7 separate regions of the Homo sapiens genome follow, and all the other regions are linked to region 2. Evidence: promoter capture Hi-C in 16 types of primary human blood cells and fetal thymus (Javierre and others, 2016). All regions are on one chromosome and are shown on one strand. Each heading gives the region's core, a stretch centred on a gene start or on the middle of the fragment in contact. The rest is flanking DNA. Distances are from core to core; before and after follow the strand shown. Region 1 has its middle 20 kb from the start of KRT18. Region 2 holds the start of KRT6C (keratin 6C). Region 3 has its middle 3.6 kb from the start of KRT18. Region 4 has its middle 15 kb from the start of KRT8. Region 5 has its middle 13 kb from the start of MIR9898. Region 6 has its middle 12 kb from the start of KRT78. Region 7 has its middle 8.4 kb from the start of KRT3.

The links. The method cuts DNA at HindIII sites, captures the fragments that hold promoters and counts their contacts. A CHiCAGO score of 5 or more calls a contact.
Region 1: a fragment that was not itself captured here is called in contact with the fragment with the promoter of KRT6C in region 2 in 6 of 17 cell types (M2 macrophages, M1 macrophages, naive CD8 T cells and 3 more); the score reaches 8.5 in M2 macrophages.
Region 3: a contact is called between a fragment that was not itself captured here and the fragment with the promoter of KRT6C in region 2, in 5 of 17 cell types (M1 macrophages, M0 macrophages, M2 macrophages and 2 more). The highest score is 6.5, in M1 macrophages.
Region 4: a fragment that was not itself captured here is called in contact with the fragment with the promoter of KRT6C in region 2 in 5 of 17 cell types (M1 macrophages, M2 macrophages, M0 macrophages and 2 more); the score reaches 8.0 in M1 macrophages.
Region 5: a contact is called between a fragment that was not itself captured here and the fragment with the promoter of KRT6C in region 2, in 10 of 17 cell types (total CD8 T cells, total CD4 T cells, M1 macrophages and 7 more). The highest score is 9.8, in total CD8 T cells.
Region 6: a contact is called between a fragment that was not itself captured here and the fragment with the promoter of KRT6C in region 2, in 1 of 17 cell types (total CD8 T cells). The highest score is 6.2, in total CD8 T cells.
Region 7: a fragment that was not itself captured here is called in contact with the fragment with the promoter of KRT6C in region 2 in 1 of 17 cell types (naive CD4 T cells); the score reaches 5.1 in naive CD4 T cells.

What each region holds. Positions count from the first base shown.
Region 1 is chr12:52,967,107-52,970,194 of GRCh38, forward strand. No RefSeq gene overlaps it. Among named protein-coding and RNA genes, the nearest start is that of KRT18, 20 kb to the left of the region's middle. The HindIII fragment of the contact is 7,174 bases long and covers 1-3,088 here.
Region 2 is chr12:52,472,013-52,475,296 of GRCh38, forward strand. It overlaps KRT6C (keratin 6C), which reads right to left and starts at 1,793. Exons shown (of 9, transcript NM_173086.5): 1 at 1,186-1,793; 2 at 54-268. The coding sequence starts at 1,725. The HindIII fragment of the contact is 8,852 bases long and covers 1-3,165 here.
Region 3 is chr12:52,944,013-52,947,037 of GRCh38, forward strand. It overlaps a transcript of KRT8 not described here. Among named protein-coding and RNA genes, the nearest start is that of KRT18, 3.6 kb to the right of the region's middle. RefSeq lists enhancers at 1-337, 1,527-2,122. The HindIII fragment of the contact is 1,627 bases long and covers 941-2,567 here.
Region 4 is chr12:52,918,277-52,921,471 of GRCh38, forward strand. It overlaps a transcript of KRT8 not described here. Among named protein-coding and RNA genes, the nearest start is that of KRT8, 15 kb to the left of the region's middle. RefSeq lists enhancers at 1-264, 265-764. The HindIII fragment of the contact is 2,200 bases long and covers 821-3,020 here.
Region 5 is chr12:52,884,207-52,887,272 of GRCh38, forward strand. It overlaps the pseudogene RPL7P41. Among named protein-coding and RNA genes, the nearest start is that of MIR9898, 13 kb to the right of the region's middle. RefSeq lists a silencer at 599-893. The HindIII fragment of the contact is 218 bases long and covers 1,580-1,797 here.
Region 6 is chr12:52,859,405-52,862,689 of GRCh38, forward strand. No RefSeq gene overlaps it. Among named protein-coding and RNA genes, the nearest start is that of KRT78, 12 kb to the left of the region's middle. The HindIII fragment of the contact is 2,198 bases long and covers 724-2,921 here.
Region 7 is chr12:52,802,942-52,806,069 of GRCh38, forward strand. No RefSeq gene overlaps it. Among named protein-coding and RNA genes, the nearest start is that of KRT3, 8.4 kb to the left of the region's middle. The HindIII fragment of the contact is 4,113 bases long and covers 1-3,128 here.

The DNA of each region.
Region 1 (3,088 bases), core at 206-2,705, 490 kb after region 2:
TGGGTGGATCACCTGAGGTCAAGAGTTCGAGACCAGCCTGACCAACATAGAGAAACCCCGTCTCTACTAAAAATACAAAATTAGCCAGGCGTGGTGGTGCATGCCTGTAATCCTAGCTACTTGGGAGGCTGAGGCAAAAGAATCACCTGAACCCGGGAGGCGGAGGTTGCAGTGAGCCAAGTTTGTGCCATTGCACTCCAGCCTGGGTGACAAGAGTGAAACTCCATTCTCAAAAAAATAAATAAATAAAATAAAATAAATAAACAGATGGTTCAAGTTTGGCCTCTCCCAGTAGGAATCCTCTTTGTGGCCTTCCTAACATCTGGCCTCCGTTTGAAGAATTTATGACAGTATAGCCCCTGTTGGATAATAATTGTATAATTACTGGAACATTATTGTTCCTTCTACTGGGCTGAAATCTGCCTCCTACTAACCTTCTAAACTCAGCTCTGCCCACTAGAGTTACACAGAACTCCCTCTTCCATTAGATTTCAGCCATAAGTGATTATTCTTCCCCTAACCTGTATAAAAGCAGCCCCAGTCACGGTGTAAGGATTTAGCTGCACTGCTGGCCTCAACCTCACCTGCCTGAATGAGCTGGAAAATAATTATCTACACAGAAACAGCCCAAGGAATTAGAATGATAGTGATGCTCAGATCCGGGGAGGCTGTGTCCCCCTGAAGGCCCTGGTCAGATCCTGGTGAAGTGGATGGTGCTGCCACAGGAGGGATGTAGGGTAAACTTCTCAGAGACTCAGGGCACTCCAGTGATCTGGGCCCAAAGCACACAGTTCCTTTTCCTCTCCCCACAATCCACACTGGAGCAGCAGGCTCTAGTGGGCCCCTCCCAGGCTGGCAGAACTTTCCCTATCACCCACTCCCCAGAAGCAAAAAAAGTTTAAAAAGCACCAGCCTAAGGCTGGGTGCAGTGGCTCATGCCTGTAATCCCAGCACTTTGGAAGGCTGAGGCGGGCAGATCACAAGGACAGGAGTTCAAGACGTGCCTGACCAACATGGTAAAACCCCGTCTCTACTAAAAATACAAAAATTAGCCAGGCATGGTGGTGCATGCCTGTAATCCCAGCTACTCGGGAGGCTGAGGCAGGGGAATTGCTTGAACCCGAGAGGCAGAGGTTGCAGTGAGCCAAGATCATGCCATTGCACTCCAGCCTGGGCAATGGAGCAAGACTCCGTCTCAAAAAAAATAAATTATTGTACATTTAAAAATAACTAAAAGAGTATAATTGGATTGTTTGTAACATAAAGGATAAATGCTTGAAGTGATGGATGCCCTGATGAGATTATTATGCATTGTATGCCTGTATCAAAATATCTCGTGTACCCTAAAATAGATACACATACTGGGTACCCACAAAAATTAAAAACTTTTTTTTTTTTGAGACAGAGTTTCACTCTTGTTGCCCAGGCTGGAGTGCACTGGCTCAATCTCGGCTCACTGCAACCTCCGCCTCCCAGGTTCAAGTGATTCTCCTGCCTCAGTCTTCCGAGTAGTTGGGATTACAGGCGCCCACCACCACACCTGGCTAATTTTTTTTTTTTTTTTTTTTTTTTGGATTTGGAGTAGAGACGGGGTTTCGCCATGTTGGCCAGACTGGTCTCGAACTCCTAACCTCAGGTGATCCACCTGCCTCGGCCTCCCAAAGCGCTGGGATTACAGGCATGAGCCACCAGACTCAGCCAAAATTAAAAACTTTAAAAAATAAATTAATAACCACAGCAGTAGCTAGTAGCTAATGGCTACCAGATTGGACAGGACAGTGCAGCACCAGACTGTAAGCTCCCTTTGAGCAGAGACTGGACTATCTTGTTCACTCTTATGCCCTGATACATAACACAATTCCAACACATAAACAGCAGGTTGTTATTTTCTTTTTTAAAGACAAAAATTTGAAATTGTAATTTTTATTAAATTGTAAATAAAATGTTATTTTATTTTATTTAATAACCTATAGCATTTGCCAATATCCAAGGTATAAATACTGCTGTCATGGTTGATTTAAAATGGTTTAATTCTGGGAAGCAAAATTTTCAAATTTAACAATCTTCTCTTACTAGCTTTTGAATGAATAAGCAAATGAATGAACAAATAAATGAGCAAATAACAAACCAAGAGGAGTCTCTGCATGCCTCACCCAAGGAAAAGAGGACAAAGGAGAGTAGAAGAATATTTCAAGATGCCAGCAGTCCTCTCACTCTCTTTGCAGGTCCTCTTTGTTCCAGGAAAGAGAACTTAGTGGGAGAACAATTGAACTTCCTCAGCTTCGCTTCACACACACCCCAGCTTTAAGAAAGCCCAGGAAGAATTTGTTTTTTTTTTTTTTTTTGAGACGGAGTCTTACTCTGTCACCCAGGCTGGAGTGTAGTGGCGTGGTCTCGGCTTCTCAGCTCACTGCAACCTCCACCTCCCAGATTCAAGCGATTCTCCCGCCTCAGCCTCTCCAGTAGCTGGGATTACAGGTGTGCACCACCACGCCCAGCTAATTTTCGTATTTTTAGTAGAGACAAGGATTTCACCACGTTGGCCAAGCTGGTCTCAAACGCCTGACCTCAAATGATCCACCTACCTCGGCCTCCCAAAGTTCTGGGATTACAGACATGAGCCACCTCACCTAGCCTTTGGATTACAGACATGAGCCACCTCGCCTAGCCTTTTTTTCTTTTTAAGGAAAAAAAGAAAAATAAAATCTCATCTTAATCTGCTCCATTTTTTTTTCTTTTTAAAGAAACTTTCCCAAGTCACTTAAACAGTCTTCGTAATGGGAAGGCACTCAAACTATAAATCTCCCTGTCATTTAGGAATGCTCAGTGCAAATGTTTATAGAACCCGGGCACCACTTTCAACCTCTCCTTTGAAGAAGGGCTTTGTAATCCTCCTCTGGGGTCACTCCTACATTCCAAAAATGTTCAGGAAAGGAAGGGAAGGTGCCCACCAGTGGGACAGCTTAGACCCAGGTCCCCACCCTCAGGTTCGGCCCTAAGAACATAAAGATACAAGAAAGGTCACGAGGTTAATTCAAAGCCAAGGAATGTCATGGCAGTAAATGCTGCAGGTGTTCACGGGGAGGAT
Region 2 (3,284 bases), core at 543-3,042:
CCCTGGTCACCCAATAGTCTTGAAGTGTGTGCTGCAGGAAATGGAGTCCTCACTTGTTCTTGAGGTCCTCCACCAGGTCCTGCATGTTTCTCAGCTCCGAGTCCAGGCGGCCCCGTTCCCCGACGATGCTGTCCAGCTGCCTCCTGAGGTTGTTGATGTACTGCTCGAACAACGGCTCCAGGTTCTGCCTCACAGTCTTGGTGCCCTGCTCCTGCAGCAGGGTCCACTTGGTGTCCAGAACCTTGTTCTGCTGCTCTAGGAACCGCACCTGGAAGGGAAGCAAGATGGTCATTTTCCAGGCAAAGGAAGGAAGAAAAAGTGTCTGGTATCCAGTTTCCTGGCAGGTCTTGGAGGTCCCCATGGTGCTGGGCTACTACAGTGCATGTGGAGAGGCTCAGGCTGAGCTCTGCTCCCCCAACCCCTTCTCCTTTGCACCCCACCAGTCTCACTAGAGAAATTGTCCCATGGACCATTGAGGTGTTCTCACGCTGTAAGCTATTGATCATCAGTGAGTTTCAACATTTCTTCTCTTCTTTTTCCAGGCACAATCACAAATCTAGTTTAAAAATACTAATTACCTGATATATTGTACACAGTTTTTTTACTGATAGGATCTTAGTTAGGAGAGATATTATATGTTGACTCATGATTACATTTCAGTCTACTTTCCCATTTAGTGTCTCCTCTCAAATATTCTGATGTTATGGTCATTCTCTGTTTTTAAAATTAATTAGCATTTATCCATGTTTTACAGTTGTTTCTATGTCCCTTTTTTTCTTAATCCAGCCAGATTATCTTTTCCTTTTCTTTCTAAATCTTTTTCCTCTTACCCAGACCCCAGAGTGTAATTTACCAGCCCATATACTCCTGGCATTTGCTTTGTAATCTCTTAAACACTTCAGAGGGGAGAATTAACCTACTCCACTCTCTGATGGCCTCATCTGTGCTTCAGGGTTATGAAAAGTTACGGCTCTCCCTAGGCAGGAGTGAGGGCCACTCCAGAGATCCCATGGGGGAGTGATGCCCATCTGTGCTGCCTCCTGTGCACCGAGAGCCACCTGCACTCTCTGCAGAGCTGGGCTGAATCCCCTTCTCCCTCCCTCCTAGGTCTCCCTAGCAGGAAGGTGTTGCTCTTCTGGTCTGGGGACCCTGAAGTGCCCGATGGAGGGCATGGCACTGGCTCACCTTGTCGATGAAGGAGGCAAACTTGTTGTTGAGGGTCTTGATCTGCTCACGCTCCTCGGCCCGCACCCGCTGGATGGCGGGGTCAATTTGCAGGTTGAGGGGAGTCAGGAGACTCTGGTTGACGGTGACCTCTTGGATGCCTCCAGGGGGGCACACAGGGAAGCCAGGGCCCCCAAAGCCACCAGCAAGGCCGGCTCCACCACCCAGACCAAAGCCAATGCCGGCTCCACCACCGAAACCAAATCCACTCCCGGCGCCACCAAAGCCATAGCTGCCTCCGGCTCTGCTGCCATAGCCGCCACTGATGGCACAGCTGCCCCCTCCAATGGAGATCCTCTTGGAGCCCCCCAGGCCATACAGACTGCGGCTGCCAAAGCCAGCTCCTCCACATGCACCACCCAGGCCACCACTGCCCCTGGAGCGGGACACGGAGATGCTGCTGAAGCCAGAGCGGCTGACCCCAGGGAGCCTGGCTGAGTTGGCACTGAAACCCCGGCGGCTGCTGCTGTGGCTCCTGATGGTGGTGGATGTGCTGGCCATGGTTCCAGGAGATGAGAGGGCTGTGGCGAGCGTTGGAGGCTGGAGGCGAGAGGCAGGAGAAGCAGGACAAGGAATCGGGCTCCAGCAGTAGCTTATATATTATGAGAGAGCATGGGCTGGGCCCAGTCCTGGAAGGTGAGCTTGCAGGTTGGGAAGGGCTGGGCTTTACAAATAGTGAGATCACACCTGGATCAGAAAAGTTATGAAATGCTGAGATGGCATTTTTCACTTCCTTTAGTCAGGGAAAATGTTCCTGCCTCCAGCTTTGACTCGAGATTTCAGCACAGTAAGAGCATTCTCAGTTCATGAAGTTGAAGTTAGTCACTGTCTTCAGCAAAGGTTCTGCATGCTAGGCTGTTTATCAACATGCTGTGAGTGCTTTCCTCTTTCCAGCCTGACTTTCTTCCAGCAGAGATGTTGGAGATCACAAGCACTGTATTGCAAATGCCTTAACAGAAATATTAACATTTTTCCTGTAATTATTTTTCCTTCTGTGTGCAATTTCAAACATGTAGAGGAGCAGAACACAATGGGCCTGTATATACCTATTACCTGTTTCCATGATGATTACCTTATGGCCAGTCTTATTTCTTGTATATTTCCACCCGGTTCCCTTATCAATGTTAAATTTTTTTAAATCCCAAAAATATTTGGGATTTAATTCAATATTAATTCAATATTAATCTTTAAATGATAGACCTTTTAGAAATATAACTGAAATATTATTTTGTATTTTAAAAATGTATGTATTTATTAAGTCTTCGCCCTCAAGGAGTTGACTCTAATAAAGATGACAACACAAAAGGAGATAGAAGACATCACATCCAGTGGCATCACTGAGCTAGAAAGAAAGTAATGCTTTACTAGGAAGAAAAGAGCATAGAGAGGGGGTGTAGAGGGGACAGTGGGGAAGGGTAATTTTTTTTCTTTTTTTTTTGAGATAGAGTCTCTCTCTGTCACCCAGGCTGGAGTCCAGTGGTGCGATCTAGGTTCACTGCAACCTCCGCCTCCCAGGTTCAAGAGATTCTCTCACCTCAGCCTCCTGAGTAGTTTGAGATTACAGGTGGCCACCATCAAGCACGGCTAATTTTTTGTATTTTTAGTAGAGATGGTGTTTCGCCATGTTGGCCAGGCTGGTCTCGAACTCCTGACCTCAGGTGATCCACCTGGCTCAGCCTCCAAAAGTGCTGGGATTACAGGCATGAGCCACTGCTCCCAGCCAATTTGTGTATTTATTAACATCAATGTGTCTATTCAATTCTCCAATGTCCTTTTTCATTTATTTCCTTATTGTTTACAATTCTTTTGTTGATAAGACCAGGTTAATTGTCCTGAGTAGTGTTTCAGTCTTTGGGATTTCCTCATTGCTTACTCACAGTGTTTCATTTAAGATGCTACTGTGTCCTCTATATTTCCTGCAAACTGATCATTAAAACTTGAAGCTTAATAAGACTCTCATATACTTAGACTTTCCAGATGTGGATGTAGTAGAATGCCTATTTAAATACTGAAAATTGGCCGGGCGCAGTGGCTCACGCCTGTAATCCCAGCACTTTTTG
Region 3 (3,025 bases), core at 504-3,003, 470 kb after region 2:
GTAGTAAGTGCAAAAGAACAAGGGGGCTGGGAAGAAAAGGAGCAAATGGGGCAAAGCAGACAGGAGGGGAGGTCAGCTGGCTTCTCAGCTGCCAAAGCTCTTCCAGGCACGTCATCTCATTTGGTCCTCATGAAAACTCTCTAAGTGGATATTACTATTTTTCTCATTCTACAGCTGAGGAGAGACCAAGCTAGTAAAGGCTGCTCAAGATCACTAAGCCAGCAGTGGGGAATATTGTGAAATATTGAAATATTTTATTATTTCATAGAGACAGGGTCTTGTTATACTGCCCAGGCTGGTCTCAAATTCCTGGCCATAAGCGATTCTCCCACCTCAACCTCTCAAAGTGCTGGGATTACAGGCATGAGCCACCTGGCCGAATCCAGGTCTTTTGACACCAAGTGCCCTATTCATCCCTTTGCCCTCCCCTAATCTCTGGGCAGATTTGAGTGAGGCGATAGGCTGGGGGATATGGCATTGGGATACTGGGGTTGCACCTGAGGAGAAGCCAACAGCACCAGGGTCAGAATGGGCAAAGGACATAAGCACAGGCAAGGCCATTCCTGGTGGGGCTGGGCCAGGGAGCTGAGGGGCTCCTAGAAGGGCCAGGTTCCCCGACTTCTCTGAGCTTCAGCGCCTGGAGGTTTCTGGGCAGCCACACGCTTCTCAGCGCTGACCCTTCCTCTTCCTTTATCCTTGGAAAATAACCCCTAGGGCACAAACCCAACCGAAGCAATGATACTAAGTGTCAGGGCATTCCTCGACTCTCCCACCCCTGGGGAAGAGGGCCTGGCCCAAGCCCTGAGAACCCGTTCCCACCTCCACAGGCAGTGCCAGGGACTCCAAATAGGGTGCTGAAATTCCAGAAGTCTTGATATCAGACTGGGTCCTGCACCCAGCTGCCACCCGCATCCTCCCCCTGCTCCGCAGCTGCCTCTGAAGCTTGTACCCTTGCCCCCACCTCTTGTCTCTCTGCAGTCTACCTGACTGCACTTTCTGATGACCCCCACTGACCTCTCCTAGCACCCCATGTTTATTAATTACTTAAACCTAAAGTATTTACGGAGCTCCACCTATGTGCCAGATGCAGGGCTGGGCAGGAGGATTCCCATTCCACCCCAGATTCCTTTTCCTTTGGGTTCTACCCCAGATCTCCCTCTGTCTCAACAGCTCTACCCTTAACTCAGCAGCCCTGGGATTTCTCCTGTGGGAGGGCCCCCTGCATGGGTATACCCTCCACTGAGAGTAGCTGAAAGGAGCCCAGGGGAGCCTCCCAGGCGATCCCTTCCTCCCTCCAGCCCACCCCACCACAGGGCCTTCTCACTGTCTCCAACACACTGGAGTCACCCTCAGTCTTTAAAGAAGAGGATGGGAATCAGTCTCTCCCTGTTTTGTGTATAGACCCCATCCTTACACCTCAGTTGCTGTTCCGAACACCTCCCTCCTCCAGGCTGAGCAAGGAATTTCCAGCCTAAATGTTAAAGCAAAGGCGGAAGGACTGCAGGCCTTCCAATCCTCCCTAATCCTCTCATCTCTCCACCACCTAGTTTCCCCAGAGCCATCAGCTCAAGCCCTTTGTGGGAGAATGTGGAGTGGGCAGTAAGAGCTGACCCACCCCTATCGGGTCATCTCTGAGTCTACTCTGAAGTTAAACCTGCCTCACAGGTTCCCACTCCCCTTCTGCTGGACGCTGGAATGCAGGACTGATGGTGGGTGGAGAACCATTTCCCCTCTTTCCGGATTCCCCCCTGCCGAGGCTCATTACTCTTTGTGTCTGTTCTGGGAGCTTCTCACCAGGGCCCCTCCTGCTCCACCCTTTCCCGGGACTGTCCTCACAATCACGCCATCCCCCTTTCCACCTTGCTTCCCACCCCCACCCCAGAACCCTAGTGCTGGGAATCTGGAGGCCGAGACCTTCACCCCAGCTCTCCAAGAGGCTCTCTGACAAAGTGAAAAAGCCCTGAGCCACAGAGGAATCTGGAAGTGGTGGAAAGGGGCAGGCTGGTGCTGGAAGCCCGAGGTCGGTATTTGCCCCATGCTGCAAGAAGTCAGGAATGTGGCCATCGACATCAGTAGGAGAGATAAAGTCTAGCTGGCAGCTCTCCCTCTCCAGCCCCCACGCTGCACCTCCACAGGTCCCAGAAGTTTCCTAGCAGTTGGGGTGGGGCAGGAATCAGACAAGGACCTGGGAATTAGCTTGGAGAAAAATTCTAGAATCTGTTTTGATTGCTGGTAGATTTCAAAGTGCCCCAGGGTTTTTAAATGACTCAGAGAGACAGACTTCAAACCCCTTGAGCCCGTCTTTCGAATTAAATTGACCCCCTTTATCTGCCCTCCTGTATATATTGAAGCCTTCCTTACTTTGAAGGAAGGCTCCAGTACAAATAATTAGTATTTGTTTGATGAATGAGTGAGTGACAATTTACACTCACATTCACTGCCACCTGAGGAAATAGACTGGACAGGTCTTACTGTTTTCCCTGTACAAGTGAAGAAATTGAAGTTCAGAGTTAGGTGACTTCCCCAAGGTTACACAGCTAGCAAAGTATCCAGGCTGGCTGACTTAAAGCTTAGCAATAACAGTAAAAGGCAGTACGTAGCTTGTTGACTCCACATACTTTATTATAAAATACTGCCCAACTTGACAGTTCTGGAATCCAGTGGGGGAATATAAAGGTGAAAGCAGGAGAGACCCCTCTGACTGGAACCTCTTACCTCCCAGAAGCCTTGTATGCAAAACCAGTGGGCATTCATTTGTATGTTATTTTGCATCCCGTTTGCCTCCCAGCCTTCAGCAGGCCCCGACCCTCCCCTGGCCAGCTTCCACCCTGACTGCCCCCTGGCTGGCTCCCATTGAGCACTGTGGGGCTCTCCCCACCATTAGGTGACAGATCAGGAACAATCCAGGCTCAGGCTCTTTATCTGTGCTCTGCCTCCCACCTGGCAGGTCCACTGGCCAGGCTTTTCCAGGGTCCCTTCTCTCCCAGGTCTGCCCTACTATTTGTCCTCCCCTTCCCCCTCAGCT
Region 4 (3,195 bases), core at 671-3,170, 450 kb after region 2:
CAACTGGGAAGTTCATGAGGAGGGTTCAGGCAGAAGGTCAAGGGGCCTCTACTGTATCAGCTGGGTTGTTGGAGCCTCAGAAACATGCAGGCCTACTGTATGCGCTGCATGCATCACCTCATTTAAATTCATAAAGATCCCACCAGGCCGAGATGGAAAAGTGCCTACATTCACACAGCTGTGAAGGGAAGAACTGGCATCTGAGCCCCGCCAGACAGACGCCGCGCAGGTGCAGCTGCCCCGAGCCTGCCCATGCATGTTCTGCTGCCCCAAAGCCATGTGTGACCAAAACCCAAAGGACAGAGGGTGCAACCAGAAGAATTTCGCAGCCACTTCCTAATGGTGTTAAGAGTTACTTCACCAGCTGAAAATGCAGATAGTAACAACTACCTCAGAAGACTGACATGATCATCAGGTAAGGAACAGTGCCTAAAATAGCAGGTTTTCAAGACATGTTAGCTTGACTCTCACCAACCCTCCCTGCTTGTCCCCCAGCCTTTCCCAAAGCCTTTCTCCACACAATTTCCCCCATTCCCTCACCACCTTCAGACCACCCTCCCCCATGGAACTTGTGTTCACATCACTTTGATACATTTGCCTTGTGAGAGTTTAAGCCTTGTGTTTCCCTGCATGAAATAACCTCCTTGCAGAACAGAACAGTGTCTGCTGCCTCTTCCCAGGGTAGGTGGTCAAGTGGAAGAAAGTGCTAGCTCAGCAGGGTGGAGGGTAACTAGGAGGTGGCAATTGGGTCTATAAGGAGGAGCTTATAGGATAGTAATAAAGAAATAGCATGTAAAAATCCGCCATTATGCAAAACAGAAGCTTGCAAATCCAATTCCTAGGGAGCTAGCCATGCAAACAGAGCCCTGCCTACTGACGCCCACTTGCTTTCCCCAACTCTCAACCCAGGGCTCCTTTCCCTGCCAATGATGGTGGCAGTGGTAGTGATTAGGATTGGGAACCATGGTGATCATGATGGGTTTCTTTTTTGTTTTTTTGTTTTTGAGACAGAGTCTCACTCTGTCACCCAGTCTGGAGTGCATGTAGTGGCACTACCTCAGCTCACTGCAACCTTCGCTTCCCGGGTTCAAGCAATTCTCCTGTCTCAGCCTCCCAAGTAGCTGGGACTACAGGCATGTACCACCACTCTCTGCTAAGTTTTTGTATTTTTAGTAGAGACAGGGTTTCACCATGTTGACCAGGCTGGTCCCAAACTGCTGGCCCCAAGTGATCTGCTCGCCTCAGCCTCCCAAAGTGCTGGGATTACAGGTGTGAGCCACCATGCCCAGCCATGGCTTTCATTTTCAGGGTTCCTACCAAGTGTCAAAGTGTCAGATCTCTTACATATATTATATATTATTTTATTTTATTTTAGTCTATTTTATTTTGAGATGGAGTCTTGCTCTGTTGCCCAGGCTGGAGTGCAGTGGCACGATCTTGACTCACTGCAACCTCCACCTCCTGGGTTCTCAAGCTATTCTCCTGCCTCAGCCTCCCAAGTAGCTGGGACTAAAGACCTGCACCACCATGCCCGGATAATTTTAGTATTTTTAGTGAGACAGGGTTTCACCATGTAGGCCAGGCTAGTCTTGAACTCCTGACCTCAGGGGATCTGCCTGCCTTGGCCTCCCAAGGTGCTGGGATTACAGGCGTGAGCCACCGCACCTATTATTTATAATCCTAAACTAATCCATGAGGAAGGTAACATTGTTCTCATTTTACAGACAAGGAAACTAAAGCCCAAGGTCCTTTGGTTAGTGTGACAGAGACAGGAATTGAACCCAAGTCTGGAGTAATTTTAGAGCTTGAACATTCTCTTTTCAATTATGCTGTTTTATAGTCAGGATCCAATTATGTCCATTAAGAGATGTAATAATGTCAATAACTCAAAAGGGAGGATTCAAAACATGTTTATTATTTTATTTAGCAATCCAAAAGAGCTATATTACATTTATTTATTGAGCATCTGTACTACCTCTCCTACAGTAGGGATTCTGGCAGACTTGGGGGACCTCTCCCCATCAAAATGGACAGCCCCAGCCCAGGCACGGTGGCTCACGCCTGTAATCCCAGCACTTTGGGAGGCCAAGGCAGGCAGATCACCTGAGGTCAAGAGTTTGAGACCAGCCTGACCAACATGGAGAAACCCCATCTCTACTAAAAATACAAAATTAGCCAGGCATGGTGGCACATGCCTGTAATCCCAGCTACTTAAGAGGCTGAGGCAGGCGAATTGATTGAACCCAGGGGGCAGAGGTTGGGGTGAGCTGAGATTGTGCCATTGCACTCCAGCCTGGGCAACAAGAGCGAAACTCCATCTGAAAAAAAATTAAAAATGGACAGCCCCATGAGGGCAGAGACCTTGACTATGTTGTTGACCGTCACATCCACAGCATTAGAAAGACATCTAACAGGCACTCCACCAGTATATGATGAACGAATTCACAAATGGCTGAACCAGCCTGCCAGGTAAGCCTGTGCCCAGCCAGGCACAGTGGCTCACACCTGTAATCCCAGTACTTTGGAAGGCCAAGGGAAGATCACTTGAGGCCAGGAGTTCAAGACCAGCCTGGACAACCAGCGACATAGCAAGACCCTGCATGTGTGCATATATGTCTGTAAGACAGAAAATGAGACAGAGAGACTCTAGAGAGCACGCAGCTCAGCTAAAGAAAAGACCTGCTACCCACCACTCTGTAACCAACCTGCCCCCACCCCATTCCCTGGTCTCTAAGGACTAAGATAACCCCAACTCAGATACAATGACCCATTCATAGGCCTTTAGGAAAATCTGTTGACCTGGATGGTGGGAATGGGCTAAGCCCAGGCCAGCCCAGGCCAGCTTAGCCTCAGGGACCTGTTAGTCAAGTTCCCATGGCAACACAACTAATTGTGTGTTTATGCATTCCCTACAGAACTCCAGGCAGAGGCCATCTATTCCCCAAGGCCACATTCTACCTTCTCTCTCCTTCCTTGCCTCCCCAAGTTTCCTGGGTGACCATCCAGGGAACATTAAGAGAAGCTTAAGTAGCAACAGCAGCCTCCAGAACATGGAAGGCAAAGGAGGGAAAGCCTCTCTGAGGGAGAGGACCAGTACTTCTTGCTCACAATTGTCCAGCTGCAAAAGTCAAACTCCCTAGTCCTCCTCCTGGACCCACAGTTCTATGGCTTCGATGGCTCCCACATGTCACCACA
Region 5 (3,066 bases), core at 439-2,938, 410 kb after region 2:
CCGAGATGGGCGGATCACTTGAGCTCAAGAGTTCGAGACCAACCTGGGCAACATGGTGAAACCCTGTCTCTACCAAAACTACAAAAAATTAACTTGTTGTGGTGGCATGCACCTGTAATGCCAGCTACTTGGGGGGATGAGATGGGAGGATTGCCTGAGCCCAGGAGGTAGAGGCTGCAGTGAGCTGAGACTGAGCCACTGCACTCCAGCCTGGATGAAAAAGTGAGACCCTGTTTCTAAAACAAAAAAACAAAAGTTAGAGGCTAGCCACCCAGATGGCCTCCCAGAAAAGACAGACTTCAAAGGAATGGAGTCAGTGTTCCCAGGGTTTTACTTCTATAGGCAGAAACAGGGAAGTCTAACAGAGTTCCACATTTTCCATACAAAGCCCGTGCATAGGTCACACCGATTTGATTGATTACAGCTTGCTACATTCCAGAGAAGATTGCGTTAACATTCCATGAGGAGGGGTAATGATCTGAGGGAGTCTTATCTCTGACACTATTTGGTTATTTCTAATCTTTTACAGGAAAAGGAGGAAGTCACAGCTGCATGTGTGTGGCACGGGCCACATAGTTATCCTCCACTCAAGGCTCAAAATAATTTAAGTTCCAACACCTTTAAGTTTGAATTATTTAATTTCACAAGTCTTACTGTTTTAATAAATACCCAAAAGTAGACGGAGCTGGAAGGAAATGTAGTGTCAGGGGACCACCTGGAAGCCAGGAGACGGTGGCACTGCGGGGTGTTTGGCTGGACACTCCCCACAATGCCCTCCAGGGGGCGCCAGGAGCCTGGATAAAGAGACCCGCAGGAGCAAAGGTGGTGACTGTCCCTCTCCACCCCAAGGCAGGCCCAACTAGCATGGTCCCACTCGGGTCCTCTCCTCCAAGCCTGCAAGTTTCTCCTAAGTTAGAAGCATCTGGGCAGGAAAAATAATCTGGAAAAAGCTCAGGTTTAGAGCCCTTTGTTCTGATCCATGCGGCCACCAAATAGCTAGGCAACCCTGAGAGTCTGCCCCTCCGGGGCCTATAAAATGGGGTTTTAATCGGCCTCACAGGGCACATGTGTGGATCAAACAAGGCAGAGCCTTCCTGAGTGCTTTGGAAACTGAAACCCAATACAGACATGAGGAGGAAAACCTGAATGGAGCTCTTTCCTGGCTGGAACCATGGAGGTGTCCTGGAAAAACCTGAGCTTTTTTCCATATTATTTTGCCTGCCTGAGAAAGAAGTTTGCCCAAACGATACTTCAAAAGGCAAGGAGAGCCAAGCTCAGTGACTCACACCTGTAATCCCAGCACTTTGGGAGGGCCGATCACCTGAGGTCAGGAGTTCAAGACCAGCCTAGCCAACATGGAGAAACCTCATCTCTACTAAAAATACAAAAATTAGCCGGGCGTGGTAGCAGGCACCTGTGATCCCAGCTACTCGGGAGGCTGAGGCATGAGAATTGCCTGAACTCAGGAGGCAGAAGTTGCAGTAAGCCAAGAGCACACCATTCATTGCACTCTAGCCTGGAAAACAAGAGCAAAACTCTGTCTCAAAAAAAAAAAAGAAAGAAAGAAAGGCGAGGAGGAAGCTTATCTATGGAAAAGTGAAGCACTATCACAAGGAATATAGGCAGATAGATAGAACTGAGATTCAACTGGCTCAGATGGCAAGCAAAGCTGGCAACCTCTATGTACCTGCAGAACCCAACCAAGTTGGCGGTCATCAGAATCAGAGGTATCAATGTGTGAGCCCACAGGACCAAAAGGTATTGCAACTTTTTCACCTTTGTCAAATCTTCAATGGAAGCTTTGTGAAGCTCAACAAGGCTTCCACTAACATGCTGAGGATTGTAGAACCATATATTGCATGGGGGTACCCAAATATGAAGTCAGTAAATGAACTAATCTGTAAGTGTGGTTATGACAAAATTAATAAGAAGTGAGCTGCCTTGACAGAGAACACTTTGATTGCTTGACCTCTTGGTAAATACAGCATCATCTGCATGGAGGTTCTGATTCATGAGATCTATACTGTTGGAAAACTCTTCAAAAAAGCAAATAACTTCCTGTGGCCCTTCAAATTATCCTCTCCATGAGGTGGAATGAAGAAAAAGACCACCCATTTTGTAGAAAATGAATGTTGGCAACAGGGAAGACTACATCAATAGGCTTATTAGAAGGATGAACTAAGGGTCCACCATAATTTTTTTTTTTTTTTTGAGATAGAGTCTCACTCTGCTGCCCAGGCTGGAGTGTAGTGGCATGGTCTCGGCTCACTGCAACCTCTGCCTCCTGGGTTCAAGCGATTCTCCTGCCTCAGCCTCCTGAGTAGCTGCCACTACACCTGCCACTACACCCAACTAATTTTTTGTATTTTTAGTAGAGACGAGGCTGGTCTCAAACTCCTGACCTTGTAATCCGCCCACCTCGGCCTCCCAAAGTGCTGGAATTACAGGCATGAGCCACTGTGCCCGGCTACCTTGATTATTTTTCTAATCTGGTCAATTAATAAACAGTTCCTGCTTTCAAAATGAAAAAAAGAAAAAGAAAACCTGAATAGAGGTTATGGAAAGTGAATGTGCTGCCCTGGGGTGGGTGAGGGACACAGAAGGGGTCAGAGAGATAGTTCATCTCGAAGGGGATCCTAAGGGAAAGAGCATGCATCTTTATTTATAGTTTGCAAAACATCTTTACGTGCATCACCTTAATAAACATTACTGCCTTTAATCCTCATGAACACACTGCAATCTGATTGTCCCCATTTCACTGGCAGCAAACTGAAGTTCAGAGCAGGGAGGCAACATCCTCAGGGTCATAGATCCTGTGTGACTGGCAGAGCCAGGGTGCCCACCTAGGTCTTCTGCCCCCTCACCCAGGGCTTATCCCACTGTGCTGACTTTAATCATGTGTCCCTTGCAGAGGATGCCAGGGCCCATCTTCCTGAAACTGCTTCCATCAACTCCCTTCCTTATTCCCCATGCCTCAAGAAAAACAAAAAAAGAAAAACAGTCCAGGCAAGGTGGCTCACACCTATAATCCCAGCACCTTGGGAGGCTGAGGTGGGTGGAGTACCT
Region 6 (3,285 bases), core at 573-3,072, 390 kb after region 2:
CAGAGTGAGACTCCATCTCAAATAAATAAATAAATAAAAATACTATTGAGAACTCTCTGAGTGCCAATCACTGTGCTGGGCCTGTGCAGATCCTTCATCTTCTTTTATCTTCACCACAATCTGAGATGTGGGTATTATTTTTCCTTGCTCTACAGACACAGAAATAAAGCAATTGTCCAAGATCTCAAAGATGGAAAGAGGCCAAGTTAGGATGAAAACCCAGATCTTCTAAACATACACCGCCCCAATAGTCTTCCCAGGAACACTGTACAGCCTTCATGTAGTATGTATATGTACATGTTTCCTGTATAACAAAGAGACCAGAAGCTTCCCTGGTGCTGGGGGCTATGGGGAGAGCCCAAGGGAGAGGACACCCGCTCCCACTCTGCTGCAACACACAGCACTCTGCTCAGGGATGGGGCAGTGGCGTGTTATTGTTACACAAGGGGCTCTCTGTCAGGGAGGGAAGATAAGTCTGTTCTGTAGTGTTTGCCATTTTCCGTGGTGCAAATATTCCATGGCTGATTTCAAGCTGCCACCATGATGTCACTGAATGCAGAGCTGGGAAGAGATGCACACAATCAGGTCTCCTGAGTTTGCTCAAGCAGGCCCAGCACACCATGGGCCAGGGGTGAAGAAAGGGAGACTGTCCCAGGCTGGGAGTCAGGAACACACATCCAGGAACAAACTGCTGGTGCCTGAGAGAGGAAGGGGATTGGACAAAGCTTCCAACTCTGGGGGACCCTGAGAGGGGAAGAGGGAAGTGTTCAGACAAGAACTTGAGTTGAGAGTCCAGACACACCCATCCAGGGCTTAGTACCCAGCCACTGCAACCCTGACCCAATCAGGTTCAGCCAGTTGGGTGCCCTGCTGCTAGCAACAGCTCCTGATTTGGCAAATATTATGAGGCCTGTTACTAAGGACAGCCTCCCAATACCCCAGAGGGTGAAGAGCAACTTCCAGGGGAAAGTTGCCAAGATTCTTACACCCTGAGGATGTTCAGTCGAAGCTGCAGCAGGAACTCCCGGACTGGGAGACAGGGTGGGGGATTACATGGACCAGCTCCCTCCCACTCAACCATCTCGCCAGCATCTCTCCCATGGCCATCTGAGTGCTGTGCCCTGGGTGTTGGAAGTAAGGTTCTGCCCGTCTTCAAGGAACTTCCATCTGAGAGGAGATCTGTATTTTCAAAACTGCAAGCTACAACCCACTAGTGGATTGTGAAATCAATTGCATGAGTCTTTACCAGCACATGAGTGTGCATCACAGGTAGTAAGGGTAATATTGCACCATGAAATTTTGTTTGGGGTGTGTGTGTGTGTGCGCGCATGCAGAACTGTAATATAAAATGAATTTATTATTAGAGATCACTGTTCAAAAAAAGTTTCAGAAATTCCCTGACAGAGGAAGTGGTACCCACACCCAAACACACACAAACCCAAGAAAATAAGACCAGAAACAGGAGCAGCGTTAGGTGTCAGGACTTGGGGATAGAACATAGAGGTTTAGTCTGGGAAACTTTTCCAAAGGAGAGAAGTAATGAAAAGCAGAGTTAGAAAAGGGAAACAAGAAACTGAGGCATCTCTCCCAATCTATCCTGGAAGGGAGAGGAAATTCTCTTAATATCTAATCTAATCCCTAAACCCGCTGATGTGCTCTTCCCTGAAGCCCACCTACTCCTCAAAAGGAAAACCCACAGGTCCCTCCTCCAGGTAACCACCTTTTCTGGGTCATGACAGTGACACAGCTGGTCGGGGCTAGGGAGGGTGGAGTGAGCTGGGCTCGGGGGCACAAACAGCGGCATGCTGGGCACAGCCAGGCAGGAGGGCCCAGCGCTGCAGGTGCTGGGGCAACACAGAACAATACCAGATTCATGCCTGCCCTTGGGAAACGTAGACTCTAGTTAAGAAGACCAAAGTAGGCTGGGCATGGTGGCTCACGCCTGTAATACCAGCACTTTGGGAGGCCAAGGTGAACCGATCACGAGGTCAGGAGTTCGAGACCAGCCTGACCAACATGGCGAAAGCCCATCTCTACTAAAAATACAAAAATTAGCCAGGTGTGGTGGCACATGCCTGTAGTCCCAGCTACTTGGGAGGCTGAGGCAGGAGAATTGCTTGAACTCGGGAGGCGGAGGTTGCGTGAGCCAAGATTGCGCCATTGCACTCCAGCCTGGGTGACAGAGCAAGACTCTGTCTCAAAAAAAAAAAAAAGACCAAAGTAACACACACCTAGAGCAAGCCAACAGCAAAAGCATCCCACAGGGGCGTAACACTTGCCAGTGCAGAATGGCAGAGCAGTGAGATCTTGCAGATCATCTCGTCCAACACGCTGTCTCACTGCACAAGAAACTGAAGCCCAGAGAGGAAAAGCAACAGGCCAAGGACACATAAAAAGGATGGGACTAGAGCCCACTAGGCCAGGACTCATTTCATCTTGCAATATGGACAGCCTGGAACAAACCCTGAGACTAGGATGGAGACACAGGGAGGGGGACCTCAACACCCCACTTCAGACAAGCTCATTCATACTATTATCCACCCATCGACATTGACTGGGCACTTCTCAGTGCCAAGCACTGTGCCGGGTGCTTCAGATGGCAACGAATAATCCCGTCTAGGGGAGAGTGGAGTGCACCTGTTGCCCTCCAGGAAAGAACACGGGCTCTGTGACCTCCCTGACCTGCTGCAGCCTCCTTTACCATCAGGAAGCTCTCAGGTCTAACCTCACTCCTTTCTGCTGCAACATCAGCCCAGTTTCCCTTGGCCCCAGAGGCACTGCTTGCTGGCCTGACCTGACAGGTGGGGAGGGTGCTTGTATGGCCCAGGGCCCTCTCCCAGCTCCTGAGTCAGCCTGATCCATTGTTCCAATGACTCTGCCTGCTAAGGTGGCTTGAAAGCCCAGCGAGCCCTGCCAGCTGAAGCTTGTGGGTGAAGAAGGGGCAGAGAGAGGGAGAACTGAGGAAGGCTGATGTTGGGTGGGGAAGCAGAGGGGGTAGAACAGGCAGGTCTCACCCACTGCCTGGCTTCTTAAAGTCAAAGTTTATAGGGTTTTTTTGTTGTTGTTTGGTTGGTTTTTTATTGTTTTGTTTTGTTTTGTTTTTCTGTTGTTTGTTTGTCTGTTTTGAGATGGAGTTTTCGCTCTTGTTGCCCAGGCTGGAGTATTGACACGATCTTGGCTCACCGCAACCTCTGTCTCCCGGGTTCAAGCAATTCTCCTGCCTCAGCCTCTGGAGTAGCTGGGATTACAGGCATGTGCCACCACGCCCGGCTAATTTTGTATTTT
Region 7 (3,128 bases), core at 394-2,893, 330 kb after region 2:
TCACTCTAGACTAGAAGTAATTTTGCTACCCTCTGGACTGTCATGTCCTTCATTTGTAACTTCCAAAGGCATTCATCTGTCTGTCTGGTTACCAAGTTCTTTATGTGCATGCTTTTATCTAGACATTATCATCTGTATTAAAAGCTCCTTGAAAACAGAGTCTAATTCTTCTTTGTATAATGGGTCCCCATTGCCCAGCACAAACTAGGCACTTGGTAAACATTGTTCAATTAACATTTGTTAAACAGCTACTATATGGCAAGCACAGTGGCCCTGGAATGTCAAGATGAATAAAGTCATGGTTCCTGCCCATAAATAATTTATAGACTAGTGGTTTGTTGAGTAAATGAGTGAATGGCTGGGTGGATGGATGGATGAATAGATGGATGATGGATGGATCATAGATGGATGGATGGATGGATGGATGGATGGACGGATGGATGAGTAGATGGATGAATGGGTGGATGGCAAATGACAGTCCAAACACTTTCTCCAGAAAATGTCTTCCCAGCTTATCTAGCTTCTCACCCACTTTCTCGAATTTTTAAGGATCAAATCCACAACACTCAAAGTAAAAAAACTGCAGATGCAGAACAATCCTACCTTGACCCAAAGCCAAACCAGAAAACCATGGGCAGCAATGAGCCTGAGTCCTGGGGCTCCCACCACCAAGACCCTTCATGGCCACAACTCTACACTCCCAGCCCTCTTAGTGGAATAACGAGATGACTGTTCAGACCCTACCATCAACACGGGAAAAAAAATGGAACAGGTGCTAAAATGGCTTTTTTCCTTTCAGCCTGCTCCCTCCCTTTGTCCCTCGTTGGCCCACTGTTACCATGTCCTGAGGGCCCACAAAGGGGGCACAGCCCCCTCAACTATTTCCCCACGTAGCTGTCTCACTAAACCCTGAACATCCACCCAAGACATGGGAGCAGCCATGCCTTATTCTGAGGTCCTCTGGTCTTAGAACACAAAGCCTGGGCCCCGTCAGCAAGTTAAAACAAAACCCCACAGTGGGACATGAAATAAGCCCCTCTTTGCTATAACCTTCTGGGTTTACTAGCAACGAGGTAGGGAGACTTCAGAAGTATTGGTGAGAACTTTCTGGAACTGAGAGGGCTGAACCCAGAGCGGAGGGTCTTGGTGAGGTGGGAGGGATCTATGCAAACATAGCAGTTGTTCAGGAGTTGACAGGTGCCTGAGCCAAAGTGATGGTGGGGCTGCAGCCAGGGCTGGGAGCCAAGATCTTGGGGAATGGAGTCAGGGCAGATGAGCCAAATAAACCAAGTTAGAGATTTGCCAACCTGCAGTTGGGCTCTTCAGATGTGAAAAGTGATTTCCGTATACTTAGAGGTAAAGGATTTAAAAGAAAAGGGAGAGCATGGGGCCTCCAACGGGGTAAATAATGCAAGCCATGTCTCCCTGTTTCCTAAGCACTAGGAGCTGGCCAGAATCCAATTCGAAGGATCAGAGAGAAGGGTGGTGTCTATTATCTCAGCAGTATATTTACCCCAAATAATCCCCTCTGACTAGCCAGCCAGTTTCAAACATATGAATCAAGGCCAGGATCCACTCTCCTGGACTGTTCTAGAAACAGAGACCAACATGAGGGCTTTTCCTTTTTATGTAAAATAGAAGACTTTTTTTTGAGACAGAGTCTCACTCTGTCGCCAGGCTGGAGTGCAGTGGTGTGATCTCGGCTCACTGCAACCTCTGCTTCCTGGGTTCAAGGGATTCTCCTGCCTCAGCCTCCCGAGTAGCTGGGATTATAGGCGCCTGCCACCACACCAGGCTAATTTTTGTATTTTTAATAGAGACGAGATTTCACCATGTTGGCCAGGATGGTCTCGATCTGTTGACCTCATGATCCGCCCCCCTTGGCCTCCCAAAATGCTGGGATTACAGGTGTGAGCCACCGTGCCCGACCTAAGAGACTTTTTATATAAATAAGAAACGCTGACACACTCACATAGCCATGTGCCTATGAATACAAACACATTTATTCTAAGATGCACATACACGCGTATAATCTACGGCCTGACCTTGCAGTGTAAATCACTGAGTTCAACCAAAGAGATGCTGAGAGGCACGGAGGGCTGCTCAGGCTGGCTGCTCCCACACTCAGGGGGCATGAGAAATGCTTTAACCTGCCCCTTGCCTCTCTGTGAGGCCCAACACAACCTGCAGCCTCCTGGTGGGTGAACCTGAGAAGCTCCACCCCTAGTTCCAACCTTTAACTCCTCCTCACCACTCCCAGAAACTCAAAAAAAAAAAAAAAAAAGAGCCCATCTGCATTTTGCCAGGGGAGGAGTGCAGCCCTTGGAAGAAGCCAAAGCCACCAAATGCAGCTGCAGAGACTTCCTGTTCTGACACATGGGGCTCAATGAGCCCTAAGACAATGGGGATATTAGGGCCAGGCTGATGAAGGACAGAGCCCAGGTTGCTCCTGGCAAAGTCCCCTGCCCAGAGAGCACAAGCCCCTGAGATTAACCCTTTGCTACTCTGTCCCCGCTTTCCCAAAGGCAGAACAACCCTGAGCCTACCTTGGATCTGCACGAGACTCCCATGGGCAAGGACTGGTCTTGGGCAAACGACGTGCCTTTCTGCCTGCACACCATGAGGCCCCATGGACACAGGGCTGGAGGAACTGGAGTCTGAATGAACTCTGCGGCAGTCAAGGGTGGGAGGCACAGTAGGGTGGCCAAGGCAGAGAGTGCATTCTGCATCTGCAGCAAACTGATTCGAGTCAGACTGCAGAGCAGGAGCTGGGAAATCTTTGGAAGAGGGGAGACTGTGCTGCTCCAGGTACTTGGAATTGGTCCAATATAGAAAAAGGGTGTCCCCAAATCTACCCAGACCCCCACCTCTGACTGTCCTCTCCCCGCTTCTGTAATTAGACAGCTCCCTCCACTCCTGCTCCAGAAGACCTGCTCCACCTCCAACATTCTTCGCCACTCAGGGACAGCACCACAGACATAACCCCAGGCACCCCTGAGGAGCTGGGGAAGTGAGCAGCTCATGAAAACTCTAGGAGAATGACACACATGCACACCTCCCTCCAACAACCGTGACCTTGTTGATTCTTGGAACAGGTTCCTGAAAGCCTTGTTGGGCCAGTGAGATTT